Linked DNA regions of Homo sapiens: region 1 is linked to region 2. The links are contacts of gene promoters, found by promoter capture Hi-C in human tissues and cell types (Jung and others, 2019). All regions are on one chromosome and are shown on one strand. Each heading gives the region's core, a stretch centred on a gene start or on the middle of the fragment in contact. The rest is flanking DNA. Distances are from core to core; before and after follow the strand shown.

What was found. The method cuts DNA at HindIII sites, captures the fragments that hold promoters and counts their contacts. A contact is called where the count stands out against the background at its distance.
Region 1: a fragment that was not itself captured here is called in contact with the fragment with the promoter of SPSB4 in region 2 in 1 of the 25 tissues and cell types used here (aorta).

Annotation. Positions count from the first base shown.
Region 1 is chr3:141,202,175-141,208,746 of GRCh38, reverse strand. No RefSeq gene overlaps it. Among named protein-coding and RNA genes, the nearest start is that of PXYLP1, 26 kb to the left of the region's middle. RefSeq lists enhancers at 1,453-1,954, 3,459-3,969. The HindIII fragment of the contact is 3,972 bases long and covers 1,821-5,792 here.
Region 2 is chr3:141,049,364-141,056,301 of GRCh38, reverse strand. SPSB4 (splA/ryanodine receptor domain and SOCS box containing 4) reads right to left here and starts at 4,955. Exons shown (of 3, transcript NM_080862.3): 1 at 4,310-4,955. The HindIII fragment of the contact is 7,949 bases long and covers 4,227-6,938 here.

The DNA of each region.
Region 1 (6,572 bases), core at 2,557-5,056, 150 kb before region 2:
AGGGCGCAGTCCCAGTTCTTGTGTAAGAATTCTGACTGCACAGCATTGCCCTTTGGTTGTGGGTAATGAAAAGGGTTGGGATGAATCAGGGATAGCTAGAGTGGGGGCAGTCTCTAAAGCTGTCTTCAAGGAATGGAAGAAGGAGTGGGGAAAGGATTTAGGATCTATGGGGTCAGCTAGGTTTCCTTTGGTGAGTTTATATAATGGTTTTGTTAGGATGGCAAAACTAGGTGTCTAAAGGTGAAAGTATCCAACCATGCCCAGGATGTAGAAGGTGTTGGGGTTTGAGAGATCAGTCAGACACGATCGGCAGGGAGAGCATGTGTGTTTTTATGAGAATTATGCTGAAACAGGTAACAGATGAGGAAGAAATTTGGGCTTGACTGAAGTAATGGGGGCTATCTGTGAAGCCTTGCGGCAGTACAGCCCAGGTAATTTGCTGAGCCTGATGGGTGTCAGGGTCAGTCTAAGTGAAAGCGAAGAGAGGCTGGGATGAAGGGTGCAAAGGAATAGTAAAGAAAGCATGTTTGAGATCCAGAACAGAATAATGGGTTGTGGAGGAAGGTATTGAGAAAAAAAGAGTGTACAGGTTGGGCACCACAGGGTGGATAGGCAAAACAATTTGGTTGATAAGGCGCAGATCCTGAACTGACCTGTAAGACTTGTCCGGTTTTGGAGAGGTAAAATGGGGGAATTGTAAGGAGAGTTTATAGGTTTTAGAAGCCCATGCTGTAGCAGGCAAGTGATAACAGGCTTTAATCCTTTTAAAGCATGCTGTGGGATGGGATATTGGCATTGAGTGGGGTAAGGGTGATTAGGTTTTAATGGGATGGTAACGGGCATGTGATCGGTTGCCAGGGAAGGAGTAGAGATGTCCTACACTTGTGGGTTAAGGTGGGGGGGATACGAGAGGAAGACGCAAAGGAGGCTTTGGGTTGGGGAGAAGGGCGGCAATGAGATGCGACTGTAGTCCAGGAATAGTCAGGGAAGCAGATAATTTGGTTAAAATATCTCAGCCTAATAAGGAAACTGGGCAGGTGGGGATAACTAAAAAAGAGTGCATAAAAGAGTGTTGTCCAAGTTGGCACAAGAGTGGGGGAGTTTTCAGGGGTTTTGAAGCTTGGCCGTCAATACCCACAACAGTTATGGAGTCAAGGGAAACAGACCCTTGAAAAGAAGGTAATGTGGAGTGGGTAGCCTCCGTATTGATTAAGAAGGGGACAGACTTACCCTCCACTGTGAGAGTTACCCGAAGCTCAGCGTCCGTGATGGTCTAGGGAGCTTCCGAGGTGATCGGGCAGCGTCAGTCTTCAGTTGCTAAGCCAAGAAGATTTGGGAAGGAGTCAGTCAGAGAGCCTTGGGCCAGAGTTCCAGGGGCTCTGGGAGTGGCTGCCCCACGAATTGAACAGTCTGATTTTCAGTGGGGTCCCGCACAGATGGGACATGGCTTAGGAGGAATCCCAGGCTGCGGGCATTCCTTGGCCTGATGGCCAGATTTCTGGCACTTGTAGGAAGCTCCTGGGGGAGGCGGGCCTGGAGGAATGCCTGGCCACTGCGGTTTAGGCATTTGGAAGTTCTTGTGTGCTGGAGATGTGGCTGGGGTTTGTCTCACAGTGGAGGCAAGGAATTGCAACTCAAATATGTTGCTACTTGGCTGCCTCTACTTTATTATTGTACACCTTGAAGGTGAGGTTAATTAAGTCCTGTTGTGGGGTTTGAGGGCCGGAATTTAATTTTTGGAGTTTTATTTAATTTTGGGAGCAGATTGAGTAATAAAATGTATATTGAGAATAAGACGGCCTTTTGACCTTTCAGGGTCTAGGGCTGTAAAGCATCTCAGGGTTGCTGCCAAAAGAGCCATGAACTGGGCTGGGTTTTTATATTTGACAAAAAAGAGCCTAAACACTCTCTGATTTGGGATAAGGAAAAGGAGAATTAACCTTGACTATGCCTTTAGATCCAGCCACCTTTTTAAGAGGAAATTGCTGGGCAGGTTGGGGAGGGCTAGTCACGGAACGAAACTCTAAGCCAGACCAGGTGTGAGGAGGGAAGGTGATTAAAGGATTATAGGATGGAGGAGCGGAGGCTGAGGAAGAATTGGGACCTAGCTCGGCCTGGCAAGGAGGGGAGAGGTCAGATGGGTCTGTAGAAAAGGAAGATTAGAAGGACTCAGCGACACTTGGGGTTGGGACTGAAGGGACAGGTGGGAGGGAAAGAAGGAAGATTTGGGACAAGCTGCATTGGGAACAGAGACTAGGGAGGGACTGATGTGTAAAAGAGTGCCTGGATGCCAGGCACCTCAGACCGTTTGCCTATTTTATGACAAGAATTATTTAGATCTTGTAGGATGGAAAAATTGAAAGTGCCGTTTTCTGGCTATTTGGAACCGCTGTCGAGTTTGTACTGGGGTCAAGCAGCATTGTAGAAGAAAATAAGGCATTTAGGTTTTAGGTCAGGTGTGAGTTGAAGAGGTTTTAGGTTTTTAAGAACACAGGCTAAGGGAGAAGAAGGGGGAAGAAGCTTGCCCATAGTGAAGGAGGCAAGCCCAGAGAAAAGAGAGAGTAGAGACACGGAGAGAAGGGGTGGGGGGGCTCTTGTCCTCCAGAAAAGTGGAAAAGGGGTCAGGGCACAGAAATAAGGGATCGGGGTGCAGAGATAAGAGGTTGGGGCACAGAAATAAGGGATTGGGGTGCAGAGATAAGAGGTCGGGGTGTGGAAATAAGGGATCAGGGCACAGAGATAAGAGGTTGGGGTGTGGAAATAAGGGATTGGGGGGTTCTTGCCCCCAGAAAAGCAGAGAAGGGGTAGAGACATGGAGAGAAGGGGTTGGGGGGTTCTTGCCCCCTAGAAAAGCGGTACTTGCCACTAAGGGTGAAGGAGAAGGATTTGGGGGTTTCTTGCCCCCCAGAAAAGCAGAGAAGGGGTAGAGACAGGGAGAGAAGGGGTGGGGGTCCTTGCCCCTCCCCCAGAAAAGCAGGACTTGCTGCTAAGGGTGAAGGACCAAGGCAGGTGTCCCTGCGTGGTCAGACACCTCTGAAACGTGGGTGAATAATCAGGCAGGTTTCCCCCCCATGATTAAACATCAAGGGAAGACTGTCTTCCTGAGTCTGTGACCGGCACCGGAGTTTTGGGTCCACGGATAAAACGCATCTCTCTTCATCTGTACCAGAAAAGGAAAGGAACTGAAATTAAGAGAAGGGAGAGATTGAAGGGTGGTGCCAAGATTGAAAGGAGAAAGTGGTTGAGGGATAGTGGGAGACGTTGGAGAAGAGAATAAGAAGAGGCCACTTACCTGATTTAAAATTGGTGAGATGTTCCTTGGGCTGGTGGGTCTGAGGACCCGAGGTCGTAGGTGGATCTTTTTCACAGAGCAAAAAGCAGGAGGACAGGGGATTGATCTCCCAAGGGAGGTCCCCTGATCCGAGTCACAGCACCAAATTTCGTGCTTGTCCATGTGAGGAGACCACCAAACAGGCTTTGTGTGAGCAATAAAGCTTTTAATCACCTGGGTGCAGGTGGGCTAAGTCCGAAAAGAGAGTCAGCAAAGGGAGATAGGGGTGGGGCCGTTTTATAAGATTTGGGTAGGTAAAGGAAAATTACAGTCAAAGGGGGTTGTTCTCTGGTGGGCAGGAGTGGGGGTCACAAGGTGCTCAGTAGGGGAGCTTTTGAGCCAGGATGAGCCAGAAGGAACTTCACAAGATAATGTCATCAGTTAAGGCAGGAACAGGCCATTTCCACTTCTTTTGTGGTGGAATGTCATCAGTTAAGGCAGGAACTGGCCATCTGGATGTGTACGTGCAGGTCACAGGGGATATGATGGCTTAGCTTGGGCTCAGAGGCCTGACAGACATACAGAAATCAGAAATGAGGTACAGGTACAGCTTGGTGTTTGCCTTATTTGAACAGTATGAACGCTCAGCAATGACTGAATGGTTGAAGTACAGCTGCTGGAATTGGCCAAGACTTAGCTATTGTTACAGGCACATACTCCTAAGTTAGATTTTCAATCTTGTCTACCTATTAAACTAGGCTGCAGTTCGTCCGCAAGGACTTAACTATAGGAGTACAGAATCCTTCTCAGGCCACCATATTTAGTTCACTTTAACAGCAGCTTCAGTACAGCTCTGTCACCCTCATTCCTGCTCAGTGCTGACACATCCTACCCTCCTGGGCACTTCCCTCTCACCGCCTCCCTCCTCACTGCAGGTCCTGTCCTCACCCTGGAGTCTCCAGTGCCCAGAGGCTGACCCATCCAATATCCTAGCCTCTGGGGCTGCAGACAGCCAGGGCCTTCATTTGTCTTCTGCCTCAGCCACTCACACCCACAGCCACACTGCAGACCTCCCCATTACAGAGCCCCACTCCACCAGCAGCATCTCACATCCACATGTCACACTCTCGGAACAGTCCCTCCCTCCTTCATTATCACCACACCTGTCCCTCACCCTGCTGAAGACAATTGAGAAGAAACAGATACATGGAAAGACCTCTGCCCTCTATTTATCTAAAAGTAGGAAATAGATTTGTAAAAGTGTCCCACCTCTCCTGTCTACCAGGAGGGACAGGAGTTGATCACTAGAGACAACTGTAAACCAAAAATAAAATTCTAAGCCTCGCAACCAATGAATAGACACCTCCTCTTAGCTAGGGGGAGTCCAGGGAAACCTGAAAGACTAGTTCACGCCATGATGGGAAGGTGGGGAGGTCAGACATGCCTCATTATACTCTCCTCCCTTTGGAACTCAGGCACAACTGACCATCATTAACGTGAAAACAGAGATCTTAAGAGGGAGAAAACAGACTGTTTATAGCAGTAAGTTACCAAATTCCAATCCGACTCTAGTATAGCATCACATAACAGATAGCAGGCCCTGAAAGAAATAAAAATATTTTACCCCAAAATATATTTCTTTGAGATACTCTTAAATTGCCCTGCCAAGGGAGAAATTTATATTCTGTAGAGAATCTCTTTCCCTTTCCAGGTCTTTTTCTGATCCTAAAGAAATTAGCTGAGAGTCTAGCACATTTTTAAAGGTCTGAATAGAAAACATTTGCCATCTATTGCCTCTAAGAGTGGCCACCTGTGAGACTTCATCTACATAATAAGAACCTTGGTCTCTACAAGCCCTTATTCTAGCCTGGATACTTCTTTCTATTGATTCCAGGTCTTTAGATAAAAACTTAATTCTTTCAAGCAATTGCCAATAAGAAAATCACTCCCTCACCCATTTTGAATTTTCCCACCTTTCAGGACCAAACAAATGTGTACATTACATATATTGATTGATGCCTTATGTCTCCCTAAAACATATAAAATCAAGCTGTAACCCATCCACCTTGGGCATATGTTCTCAGGACCTCCTGATGCTGTGTCACAGGTCATGGTCCTCACATTTGGATCAGAATAAATCTCTTCAGATATTTCACAAAGTTTGGCTTTTTCATCAACACAACTCTGGACCTAAAAGCCTGGAGATGGCACGAGAGGAATCTACATAATGAAACATAAGCCATGTAGGTCATAAATGATTATATTTGTAGACATTTTGGTGCCTTAATATCAGCAAGGGTTGCACAATGAGTTTCCATATGCATGAATTGCAGAGATGTGCAGAAATTCTAGTTACTTATAATATTTTGGGAAAGAAACCTGGAACAGATGCCTGCTTTAGATAATAAGAAGGCCTAATTACTTCTGAATTCCTCAGATAACGTGTTTTGCCTCTGGATAGCCTGCTTGATGGTAACCAGGTGATCTTTGCTCTCCTCAGATTATAGCAGAGACTGCCGGTTGCATTCCTGCAGCTATCCTCCCCTTTTACCTGGTAACAGATTCCTGATATTTCTAAATATGGGCAAATGGCTGTCCACAATAAAGGTATTTCCTAGCCTTCCTTGCAAGTGGTTGTGGTCATGTGACCTAGTTCTAGCCATTGAGAAGTGAAAGTGTCATGCGGGACTTCTAGGCTCCTTCAAAGAAGCTCAGTTAACTTGGAGTCACATCCTTGTCCCTCTCCCCCTTTCTCCTTTTCACCGTCTGGAATGAGGTGTAATGCCTGACTTCACTGCCATCTTGGATCACAAGAAGATTTTTAAGGATGACAGTCACATGTAGAGGAGCAAAAAGACGGGAGCAGTCTGGATCCTCGATAACTTAGTAGAGCCTCAAGATCTGCCATGGATGCTTATCTGGACTTCTTTTATGAGAGAAGAAAAACAAACAAACAAAACGGAATACCCCTGTGTGTTGGGTCTGTTACCAGGAGCTGAAATTAATCCCGATGTAACTCTCTTCCACCTGCCCAAATAAATGCATGCTCTCTCCCTGCCACAAACCTTCCTCCTCCTGCATGTCCTATCCCAGTGAAACGAACCGTTTCTCCTTCTTTGCCCATTTTTGGTTCACCTCTTGTTTAGACCAGAAACCAGGACTCTCCTTTGACTCCCTTATATCTCTTCATACCCAGTCAAAGATCAAATCTTGTCCTTCCTACCTCATGACTTTATCTCAGGGCAGTGATTCAGGTCATCAAAAACTATCACCCCATAGCCAATAGACCTCTGGGCCATGG
Region 2 (6,938 bases), core at 3,706-6,205:
TAACAGGTAGAATGTCTCTGTGGCCAGTAAACCGGGCCAAGGCCCACTCACTTCTGGAGAAAGCAGAGCTCCAGTTCACCATACATGACATTTCACAACATTAAAGGTCAGATGGATGACTTTGGCACTGCTCCAGCGTCTCCCACCACACATACCAGCACATTGAAGTGTAGAGCTTACCACAGCAGCTTTCCTGCCTCCTCCTGGCTCCAATGTCTTCCTGCCTACCCCATCAATGGGGCACCCCCAAGTCCATTGCTTCAACTTCAGTTTCCGCTTTTCACTCTCTCTCTCCATGCATCTTCTCTTATGACCTGCATCTCCAGCCCCGTGCAGACACTCTCAAGCCGGGTCTCCAGTGCTGCCTTCTCTCCTCAGCACAAGACCTACCTACTAGAAGCCCCTGGTCAGCCCTGCCTGGGTGTTGTTTCAAATGACCTTGTAAGGCCAGCTGACCTCTTTCCATCATAAGCCTCCTACCATGGGCACACCCACACTCTCAGCCCTGCGGGACATCTGTGGTCCATGTGCACCTCGGAATCTGCAGGTCCTAGGCTGAGCCTGGCCTCTTCCCTCTCTCACATGCCAGGTTCCTCTGCATGTCACTGTTCCTGCCATGGATCCCGTCTCTTGGTCCCCACCACTCAACCCCGTCAGCTTTCCCCTAGTTCAGAACTTGCCTGGATTACTCCACTGGTCTCTTAGCAGGCTTCCCTGACTCCACTGTTTGCCCGCCAACCCACTCTCCATGCTGCCAACAGGTAAGTTGGACCAAGACACCCACCAATCTCTTCATTCAACCCTCCAGGCAGCTTCTCCAGAGAGAAGCTGCACCTCTTTGCTTGGCACCCAGGGGCCCTCCAGGCTGCTCTTATTTCTTCCACACTGTCTGTCATCACGGCCCACCTCAGACCAGTCATGCCAGACTCTCCTCGTCAGCACATCCTGGGACTCTTCCCATCTTCTCTGACCTGGCTGACATTCTCTCACTCCCCTGCCCCTTCTAGCAGAAGCAGAACTGGGCACCCCTCCGTGGCAGCCCCTCAGCCCACTACATCCTCTTCCCTCCGCCCCATTATGTCCTCTTGCCTACGTCCCACTGCACCCTCTGCCCTCCAACCCACTTTGTCTTCATCTTAGCTGTTGATTCCTGCTGCTATCTCTTGCACCACATCTGCATTTCTTAATGGAGCCAGTGCCCAACCAGCCTTTATCTCCAATACTCGTACACAGCCTTGTACCTGTTACCTCTGGCTGCATTAAGACGTGCTTGTCAGACTGAAGAAGGACTAGCCACTCTATACCTCCTGCATGGTTTGCATTTTTTTTTTTTTTTTGAGACGGAGTCTCGCTCTGTTGCCCAGGCTGGAGTGCAGTGGTGCCATCTCGGCTCACTGCAAGCTCTGCGTCCCAGGTTCATGCCATTCTCCTGCCTCAGCCTCCCCAGCAGCTGGGACTACAGGCGCAAGCCGCCACGCCGGGCTAATTTTTTGTATTTTTAGTAGAGACGGGGTTTCACTGTGTTAGCCAGGATAGTCTCGATCTCCTGACCTTGCGATCCCCCCGCCTCGGCCTCCCAAAGTGCTGGGATTACGGGCATGAACCACCACACGTATACATTTTAAATGGAGTAAGTTCTGAACTCAATGTGTGAAGCAAAAATCACATGCAATCAACACTGCTTAGGAAAGTTCTTCTAAAGTTCCACACAAAGTTCATGATAACTGGTTTGAGGTATACCACCTCTTTCCCAAAGGGCACACCACCCACAACTGTTTTTCCTATAGCCTCAAAACAAATCCCTATTTCTTGAACTGATCAGCAGCAAATAAATTAGTTGGCTTATGTAGGAACCATGTTTTATTAAAAACGTGTTGCTGGTTTAAAAATTTTTTATAGTTGATCTTTTCTTACCACAGATGGTCATGTTCACATAAATCAAGAGTACATACTATGTACTTATATAGTACATATATAGGCAGAGACTTCTGGTGACCTCCATCTACGGCCTGCCACTCCCCTGATTTTCATGCCCAAGACCCTTCACTCCTGTATCAACAGAGAAAAAACCTTTCTAGAGCATGGATGTGTGACAACAGGTCGGGCAGCTCAGGGGAAATTAAGTAACTCCTGTATGGTGAGTTGTACTAGGTCTTTCCCCAAAAGGGCAAGGAATTCTGCACTGGCCACTGTGGCTTGGCCACTTTCTGGGATAGAAATGAAGCCCTTCCAAGGACAGTTCTACGTAAATGATGAGGAAGTTTCAGTTGTATGAAAAACTAGGAGGAAAAGTATTCTAGGCAGGGGAACAGCAAGTGAATGAGCCTTTGGAGTGTTGGAGTAAAAGGAAGAAGGCTAGGAGGGTGGGTAGTGGGGGAGAGGAAAATGGTGAGGAAGAGGTGGAGAAGGGCAGTACCAGACCTGAGGACCCCTGGGATCATCTAGATTTTACTCTGTGGCAGCCTTAAGGAGGTCCTGAGCTAGGGAGAAATGTGATCTACATTTTTAAAAGATGCTTCTGATAAATGGTTATGACTACTTGCTAATTTGATACATTAAAAAAAAATCTTGTAATTTTAACTTGCATTTTTCGTATTGAGGTAAGGTATCTTGTCATATGTTTTGGTATCATTTCTATTTTATTTCGCATGTATGAATCGTGTCTTTGCCCATTTGATCTTTTGTTTGTTGACCTCAGGAATCTCTTACATATTTAAAGAGATGAGCCTGTTGTGATAGGAGTGGTATATGTCATATGTGACAGTTTGTCATATATCTTTTGACTGTTTCTGGTGATTTCTTTTCCTTGCAGATTTTATTTTTATATCATTAAATATATCTTTAAAATAAACGAGAAATACAAACTGGAGAGATATTTGGGTAGAAGGTCCAGTAAGTTGAATTTTGTTTGTGATTTGCCAAAGGTGGCTTAAATTCTTTTCATTACCATTTTTAAAAATGGAATAAATTAGAGGGTATGTGTCTCAGAGGAATATGCCCTTGGGTAAAGGATGTTTATATCATGCTTTTACACATTTTACGTCTTCCAGACTTAAGCTCATCAAATTGCGCGGGTGGGGGGCAGGGGGCCAGAAAGGGGGTGGGAGGATAGAGGGCTCAGAGTCTGAGAGAAAGGAACTCCTATCTTCATCCCCCAACCCCCCAAGGAGGAGAGTGGGGCGCAGAAGAGGAAACCAAGCGGGGGGAGGTTAGAGAACTTGCCCAAGGTCACACCGCGAGCTGGTGGTGGAGACAGATTCGAACCCAAGCCTGACTCCAGAACTGAGAACTCTCCACCTTCTCGCGACAGCGGTACAGAAAAGTGCCCTCCTCTCCTTCCTGCCGGCAGCCGTCTGCGCTTGGCCATGGGCCGGCGGGAGCAGCCACTCCCCCGGTTCTCCCGCCAGTCAGAGGTCGGGGGCTCGGCGTCCCCTTCTGGCTTGGAGCCCCTGGCGCGTACAGAGCGACCAGGGCGGACACATTTGCCGCGCTCAAGTCTCTGACCCCCTCCCTCCTTCCCAGAGCCCTGCGCCTAGGGTTTCCTGAGCTCCCAACCCCCTCCCTTCCCGAGCATAGACAAGTTTGTATTCAAGCAAGGCCAGGACTGGTCCCTGAGTCGCTCTCGGGCCAGGCGACCAGCCTCACTGCCCCAGAGTCAGGAATAAACGGTAACAACAGCCACCGGTGCCTATTGCGTGACCCGTGCTTTACTTCCACCTCTCCGAATACCCCGGACGAACAGACCCCCAGGAATTATTGTCCCCATTACACGGACGACGGAACTGCTGCAGCTTCGGAAAGTTGGATAACAAGCTTGGGCTCGCAAAGCTAATAATAATACTAGCTAACATATGATTGAGTGTTTCCTGTGTGCCCAGCACATGTCTACCTACGAACACCATCCCATAGATCTTTCCAATACCCCTATAAAATGTGCACAATTATCATTCCCATCCTACGGATGAGGAAACAGGTTTGGCGCCCTGTCCAAGGTCACTCAGCCAGTGAGTGACGGATCCTGGATCCAAACCAAAGCGGGTGAATCGGATGGCAGTTTTTTGTGCGTTGTCCGCTACGCAGAGAAGCAAAGGGCTTAGAACCCATGATACCAAAGGCCGGGCCCCAAACGCCCCAGGGCTGCGCGCAAATCAACCATCTCGAACTGCCACAACCTGCAGAGAGGAATTCTCAGGGACTGGGACGTCAGGAGCGCCAGCTGTGTCGAGTGCTGGCCCGCACAAAGTCCGTGCAGCCGGATCTCGGCTCCCGGCCCCCGCGCGCCCCTCACCAGGAGCTGGAGAGTACTTACCATAAAAGAGAGGGCAAGCGCCTGTTCGGGAAGAATCCCCAGCGCTGGCAGGTCCTGGACTCCCTGGAGAGGGGTCTGCTGCCGCCGCCGCCCACTCAGGGGCGCCCGAGTGACCCGCAAATGCCGGCTCTCTCCGCACGGCCAGGGGCGCGTCCTCACGGCTGATGCCCGGCAGCAGCGCCCCCTCTGCGCTGCAGGATGGCCTGGAGTTAGGAGCGTTCTTGGCGAAGTTGGCGCTCAGGCGCCGGGGGTCGGGCCTGGAGTGGGGAAGCGCCTTACTGAAGCGATCCTGGGGGCGCTCCAAGGCCCGCGCTCTAGCCGCTTGGAAGCTTGGCGCCTGACCCGGAGGGCGACGAGTCCCGCGCTCAGGGCGCACGGGCCGCGCCTCGGCCGCTGGCCCCCGGCGCGCCGGGCGTCTTCCCCAGCGCCCTGAGCGCACGCAGCGGTAGCAGCAGCTGGGGCCCGGGCCCGGGATGTGGTGTGTTCATCGCCCTCCCCTGGGGCTGGGTGCTTTTGTGCGCGGGGCGCGCCGGCCGCCACGGCCAGCTCTGGATGCTGCAGCCGCCGCCGCCTCCCCCTCCTCCGCCGCCGCCGCCCGCTCCCCGCCTTCCCGGCCGGCCCGGAGGCTGCAGCTGAAAGCCGATCTGGCTGAGCTCATCCCTGAAGGCCACTAATCCAATAGCCGCGGAAGGCGCGGTCGCCGGGAACGCCCCTTCCCCCACCATCCCGCGCCCCGGCCGTCCCAGCTCGGGCCGCTGCCGGCGCCGCCACCTTCTCGAGGCCACCAGCTGGCGGGAGAGGGAAGTGGAGCCCGCGCCCGCGCCCCTGTGCCAAGGCGGCGGCGCGGTCGCCATTCACTCACCCGCCCACTCGCCCGCTCACTCCCTAGCTCTCGCATTCATTCCTGCGCGCGGGTCCTCCCGGATTCATTCAAGCGCTCCTGGAGCGCCAGGGTGGGTGCCCCTGACGGGGAGGAGACACCCAGTCACTAGGCAGCTTTGGTGCCTTTACTCAACGCACGTGGGAAATAGCAGCCAGGAGGAAAAAAGGGTGGTTTATTATCCCCCTTCCTCAGACACACACGTCCACACTTTATTTTTGAGATCAGGCTCCAACTCATCTCTTAAAGTCCAATTTCATACCGCACCTGCTCAAGGAGCGTTCCCCGCCCACCCGAGGCGCAGGAAGTCGGTCTCTTTGCTCTACCAGCGCTGATGGTGGGCCGCCTCATTGGGAGCCTGAACTGAGCGATGGGGTAAAGGGCGTGGCCAAAACAGAAGCCTCGAGGGTGCTTCTGGTATCTGCGCTTCCTTGGGGAAATTGAAAGTTCTTGGTTTGGTGGCCCTCGTCTGTGCTCCCAGAATTGACTTTAGGTCCATTACGCAGTCATTTGCTAACCCAATCCCTCTCTGTGCCAGGTACCAGGCAGAGTCTAGATGCAGACAGAGTCTAGATGCAGACAGAGTCTAGATGCAGAGTGCGCATTTCATCAAGGACATGGAAAACAAGTAAAGACAATCCAACTCTATGAAGGAAACGTTTTGAGAGAGGTTCTGGGGCGAATTTGTCAGACTGGAAAGGGCAACTGGGAATGTTTCCTAGTAAATGTGTCTACATGAATTAGCTCCTGGAGGCAGGGGTACAACATGGTCACCTGGAGAGCTACCTATCACAGCACAGAGCCTGTGCTATGAGCAGAGGGGGTATGACGGAACTGGAGGGATGGACGGTGTCTAGGGTCTTGGGTGGAGACTGTATCAAGAGCTTGACCTTCCCCATCACTTTGGGAGGCCTTTAACCAGGGTAGTGACCTTGTCGGATTTGCATTCCAGAAAGACCTCTTAGCAGCCAACTGGATGGATGGATGGAGGAAACCAGGTTGGCAGCTACTGTAATAGTCTAAGCATAAGATGATGCTTTATGAACCAAGATAACCATGATGAGGTGACAAAAGTGTGTATTGACACGTATTTATTGTACTTATTCTAACGTTTCATCACTGTCTGTTTGCATGTCTGCCCCTCCTAAAACTGTGAGCCCCCCCTGGAGGGCAAGTATAGGTACCTCACACATCTCTGGATGCCCTGCACCAGCATAGGATAGATGCTGAGGACAGTGAATGTGATTTGAACTGCCCTAAGTGGCAGTGCTGACCTACATTCACACTTGGTGTCTTTCCTTCCTACCTCCTATTGACAAGCTCCTGGAGCACCTCTACTGTGAGCTACTGTGGGGGTTATGGATGTGGTTGGGGAGCAAGAAAAGAAAATTTGTGGAAAGAAGCTCAGAAGCAAAGGAAAGTTTAAAGCAGACGTTCATGCTGATGGTTTCTCTACCCATCTGGCTGACAGGCTGGGTGTGTGTGTGGAGGATGCCCGTTGCTTCCACTCGGTGCTGGGAAGCATCACAGTAGCTTCAAGGATAAGGGAGGGAGGGAGCAGTGGCCACAATTTGAGAAAACAACTCCCCCCCTCCCTTGGGGGCTCCAGTTAGGTTCACCACACTGGCCTTTCCCAATGAGATTATGCCCCAGGCACAAAGGAGTGGGCCAAAACAGGGCCCCCTTGTGTCCCTGTAGACCCCCAAATCCTCCAGCCTCTGGATAACAAGGGAAACAACTTGCCATTTG